Regions from separate parts of the Homo sapiens genome. Here region 2 is linked to region 1. The links are contacts of gene promoters, found by promoter capture Hi-C in human tissues and cell types (Jung and others, 2019). All regions are on one chromosome and are shown on one strand. Each heading gives the region's core, a stretch centred on a gene start or on the middle of the fragment in contact. The rest is flanking DNA. Distances are from core to core; before and after follow the strand shown.

What was found. The method cuts DNA at HindIII sites, captures the fragments that hold promoters and counts their contacts. A contact is called where the count stands out against the background at its distance.
Region 2: a fragment that was not itself captured here is called in contact with the fragment with the promoter of SP100 in region 1 in 1 of the 25 tissues and cell types used here (spleen).

What each region holds. Positions count from the first base shown.
Region 1 is chr2:230,414,868-230,417,567 of GRCh38, reverse strand. It overlaps SP100 (SP100 nuclear antigen), which reads right to left and starts at 1,367. Exons shown (of 29, transcript NM_001080391.2): 1 at 1,240-1,367. The coding sequence starts at 1,271. RefSeq lists an enhancer at 1,201-1,720. The HindIII fragment of the contact is 8,532 bases long and covers 1-2,700 here.
Region 2 is chr2:230,557,328-230,560,027 of GRCh38, reverse strand. No RefSeq gene overlaps it. Among named protein-coding and RNA genes, the nearest start is that of LINC01907, 140 kb to the left of the region's middle. The HindIII fragment of the contact is 4,770 bases long and covers 1-2,700 here.

The DNA.
Region 1 (2,700 bases), core at 118-2,617:
CAAGTAAATAACTGGACCCTTTGCCTCAATAATTACATTTTTAAGGTTTAGAGACAAGATAAATATTTGTTTAGATGTAAAAACCCAAAAAGAAATATATAATCATTGTTATGATAGCTTATTGGTAAATGTGAACAATTTAAAAACAATCTAAATGTCCTTCAATTGGAGAATAAATAATTATCATATATCAATTCTATGGAATAGCATGTATAAAAAGAATGAGGCAGATCTATATGTATTAAGGTTAAAAGATCTCTAAGTTTTCCACTATTAAAATAAGTAAAAATGCAAAATGCAGACTAGCACATGTAATATAATTTATTATAAATCAAGAACATAAATTACGTATTTACAAAAAATGCATTAGATATATAAATGCATAGAAAAATATAAGAAAAGCTGTGCCCAAGACTCTTCACAGGACTGGGAAGAGAAGCTACAAGAATGGCTGAGTGGCAAAGATGACTTTTTCCTTAATATACTTCTCCACTGTTTTAAATTTTATGAACAATAATGTACAGTGTATTTCTTTTGTATTAAAAAATTTAAAAGATTAAGTAATGTTATTTCTCAACTCACTACTAGAGAAAAGTTAGGATTTCCTTCTCTTTTCTGGTCAGAGGTATCCCCCATCTTGGGACAGGAAATTGAGGTAAAAATGAAAATATTTAGCCGTTTGTCACCCTGGGCCTTTTTCTTCCCTTTCCTTCTTTTGATCAAGGTTGATGGAATAAGAACTCAGACCCTGAGCCAGTCATGGGAACAGCCGGCAGAGGCCCCTTGCCAGGACAGGTGAGACCACAGCGTCTGATGTTTAAAAGTAAGCCAGGTGTTTACCCTGGAGTGTTTATTTTCTAAAGCACCTTTTTTGACATGACATATTTGAAGGTAGAGGAAGGCTGAGGGGTGAAAGGGTTCACAGATCATGAGGAAATAGTTAATCCCAGCCACCAACAACTGCTATGTTTAGAGTGTCCCGGTCAGCTGAGCAGTAAATCCAAAACAAGAAAGTCACGTGTGTTATGGCAAGTTGAACTCACACCAACAGCTGTCCTGCTCCTGTTTAAAAAATCTGATTTCCTCATTACTTGTCTTTCATTTCATTATATAACATCGCATACCTATGTTCTTGCAAAGAAGGATTAAAGTGAAGCCTTAGGCACAAACTGAACTAAAGGCATGAAAGCTGCAATATAGCCAGAGATAAAGGTTAAAGGAAGGGAGATAAAGACTCACCTGGTGCTCAGGTCGCCGCCCCCACCTGCCATCTTCCCACCCTAGGCCCTGCGTGGGCCTCAGAGCCTGGCCTCTGAGCCCCTCAGTCGGCCCAGCCTGCGTGCAGTGTGGCTGCCCAGGCCCCAAGCAGGAAGTCGGCCGACAGACTGACTCAGAAAGGGCTCCGCCCAAATGGGGAAAAGAGAAGTGAAAGTATTTAACCTCCTTCTGGGCTACGGACACTGTGTTTCTCCTCCTTTTTCACTCCAAGGGATTCTCAGCTTTTCTGAAATGTGGCAGAGGGTTGGAGGAGAGGCCTGACAAGCAGCAAGACCTGCAGGACCAGGGAAGGAGGGCCCAGGGGACGAGCAGGGCCAGCTCCCGGGTGTCCACTTGTTTGTGCAATACACAGCCAAAAAAAATGTCCTTGAAACAAAATTGTCCTTAGCTGCTCTGCCCTCTAAGAGGGGGCATAGTTTACATGGGAGTTGGGGGGGAAACTCCATGTTTGCCCCTTCCCCTTGCTGACATGGCTTGGGGTGGGAGTTGGAGGGTTGGAGGGAAAGCCAGAAACCTCAAATCTTCTCTCAGGCCCATGGGAGAGCATGGACTGGACTAAGGTAGGTCCTGACATTGGGACCCAGGGCTGGAGAGAACCAAAATGCTCAGCATTATAACCTGGGGAGAGTGTGCTTAGCCTTCCTGGAAATCAGCCAGAAGTAAGAGAGAACTCTCCACACCCCTGGGACCAGAGGCTGGAGCCAGCATGGTAAGAAAGGCAAACATTTTAAGGGGCAAGGGTTTAAGGAATCTTGACTATGGGGCCGCCTTGGAACAGCCAGGGGTGAAGAGACACCTAAGCTTCGGAGAAGTCACTGGAATCTTGAGAGAACAAAAGCTTCTCATTGGAGGAGGATGGAGGTTGGAACCCAGATGATCTAGACATGGAAGGGCAGGGTGGCTCCCGCGGGAGGTTCTATCTCTGCCCAGATTTTCCATTTAGATTCTGATTCATCATTCCTCAGAGAACAAGAAGCGACCGAGAAGACTCGCTTTACATCAGTATAAAGTCATAGGTAAAGAAACAGAAGCAAAGGGCGCATGAGAATGGGGCCACAGGACACAACCAGGGACCAGAACTCCAGGCCGGACCATGGGGCAGAGACAGGGAGGCAGCTGGGAGCCTGGGGGCGCTGGAATCCAGGGCCCAAGGTGAGCAGAGGGTGGAAGCTGGTGAGGATTCAGGGGCCAGAGGGGATGGCACTTCAGAACGGTGTTTTCCAAATGGCATTCTACTGAATCCAACTTCTTCCAGCTGTGAATAAGGATGCTTGTCCAGGTACATTTGAAAATGTGGGGGAAGGGGCTTTCTACCCTCACTCTACTTCTGCTCTTCTTTTCCCCATGAGTGAATGACCAGGCACCAGGACATTGGTGAGGACAGCTTTGCCGGTGGGCGAAGGTCACTGTTTCTATCAGGCA
Region 2 (2,700 bases), core at 54-2,553, 140 kb before region 1:
ATCTATGTCAATTAAGTCAAGTTTGTTAATCACATGGTTCAGATTTTCTACATCCTTACTGATTTTTTGCTTGTGCCATCAGCGACTGAGGTGAGTTACAAGCTTCTACTTTGGTAGTGGATTTGTCTATTTCTCCTTTTAATCTTGTCAATCTTTGCTTTATATATTTTGTGGCTTTTCTGTTAGGTACCAATAAATGTAGAATTATCTTTTGTGTGTGTTGAATTTCTTATCATTGTGTAACGTCCCTCTTTATCCCTAATGGTGTTTTTTGCTTAAAAGTCTACACCAGTGTAGAAAAAATTTTTTTTTCTTTACTCTCTTAGGTTTAATGCCTGGGACCTATAAATTAAACTGACAAAAGACAGATTAACAGGAGAAAAAGCACAGAAATTTTATTTAATATTAGTATTTTTACATGGCAAAGGAAACATCATAGCAAGAAATAAAAACCCCAAATAAATGAATTGACTGGAGGCTTATATACTATTTTAACACAGAGCAATAACTTGTGGAGATGTAACAATACAAAGGAAAAAAGGATTTGGGCTAAGAGTGGTAAATTATGGGAAAGTGACTAAGAAATATATGGAGAAAACTAATGGGAGATAAGGGTTATTTTAGTGAGGTTTGTTTGTACAGATTCATCATGGCTTCAACTCCTTGACTCTGGTGATAAGAATGTTCTATTCCTGGTACAGGGATGGCACTTTTCTTAGGCATAAAGGTGTAAGAAAGAGACCCCTTTCTGCATCTGCTGTTTCTCAATTGCCTTCAGCTCAAAATAATCAACATGGCAAAGTGGCATATTATGGGGTGATATGTTCTGATACCATTCACCGGCTTTATATTTTTTTGAGACGACTTAGTGTTTGCATATCTTATTCCATCTTTTTATTTTTAACTTATATATCTTCGTATATTCAATCATGTCTCTTGCAAGCAGCCTATAGGTTTTCTTTAATCCAGTATGACAATGTTTGCCTTTTTTTTGTCTGTTTTTGAGACGGAGTCTTGCTCTGTCACCCAGGCTGGAGTGCAGTGGCATGATCTCGGCTCACTGCAACCTCCACCTCCTGGGTTCAAGCAATTCTCATGCCTTGACCTCCCGAGTAGTTGGGACTACAGGCACACGCCACCATGCCTACCTAATTTTTTTGTATTTTTAGTAGAGATGGGGGTCTCACCATATTGGCCGGGCTGGTCTCGAACTCCTGACCTCATGATCCACCTGCCTCAGCCTCCCAAAGTGCTGGGATTACAGGCATGAGCCACTGTGCCTGGGCTATGTTTGGCTTTTAATTGGAGAAATTGTTTCATTTACTTTCCATGTAACTACTGATATATTTAGGTTTAAATCTACCATCTTCCTGCTTGTTTTCTATTTGTCTTACCTGTTTTATGTTCCTTTTCTTCTTCTTACTTCTTTATTGGATTACATTAAAATTACATTATTATAGTCATTTTTGGTTTATCAATGCCTAGTAAACATTAATACTCTTACCATTTTCTAGACAACATAAGGACTTTACACATTCCTATTTTAGATTTCTCCTGCCATTTTATAAATCTTATAGATATTAGAAGTAAATATACTTTGGGAAAAGCCACTTGGAAAACAGAAAAGCCAATAAAACTCTTAATATTCATATAAACATATTTTTCTTTACAAAAGAATTATTCTAATTGTTTGCTGCATATGTTACAAATAGAAAATAATTCCTTTTGATTTTGGAAGATTCATGTAATAGTAGTAGTTAGCTTGCTTTGTAGTAGTTAAATTAGGCTATCTGCTCTAACAAATAGACCCCAATATATATAACATCCTCAAACAAAATTTAAGTTTATTTCTTTTAAAACAGTCTAATGAGTTACAAGTTGGTGAGATGGGAGGGTTGTTGGGTTGTTGGGGGCTCTCTTCCATGTAATTATGCATGGTCTCAGACTGATGGAGGTTTTGACACTCATGGCTTCCAAGGGTGTCCTTACTTGGAGACTGCCATCCAGTTCATGGCAGAGGAAAGATTGTGGGGCAGTACGTGTAAGAAGCTTTTATGGGTCAGCCTTGGAACTAGGCACATGTCTTCCTCAGATGTTCCTCTATCTAGAACTCGGTCATAGGCCACTCATACCTGCAGGAATTCCTGGAAAATATAGTTTAACTGTGTGCCCTGGAAGAAGAGGAAAATACAGTTTGGGTAAGCAGCTAGCTGTCTCTCCTATACACTTTCTATCTTGTCCTCAAGTATCACCCTTCTTCCGATCTTCCCACATATAGAACCCCTTACCCTCTTTCTTCCTGCCCCTCCCTTACAGGAGATAACACAAACTCCCATATAATTACTGCACACAGGCCAATATCCACTTACTTTGTGTGAAGTACAGTTCTCCCTATCAGGTCTGGATGATGTTCTTGATGTTTTGGTGACCTTTTAATAAGTTTGTCTTCCCTTACTGTACTTCCAATATACAATGTTTGATGAGTGACAGAGTAATCCCAATACAACTACTATCTAGGAAGTGGAAAAATGGGAGACAAACAGTGGCCAATGGTCTATTATCTAAATCTACCAGGCTGTGATTAAAGGGGTCCCTCTCCTCTAGCAGTGGAGGAATTTGGAAATTTCTTGACTTTGATTCTGCTCTTTTGAAATAATTCTCCTGACCGTGCCCTCTATTTTTTTTTTTTTTTCATTTTCT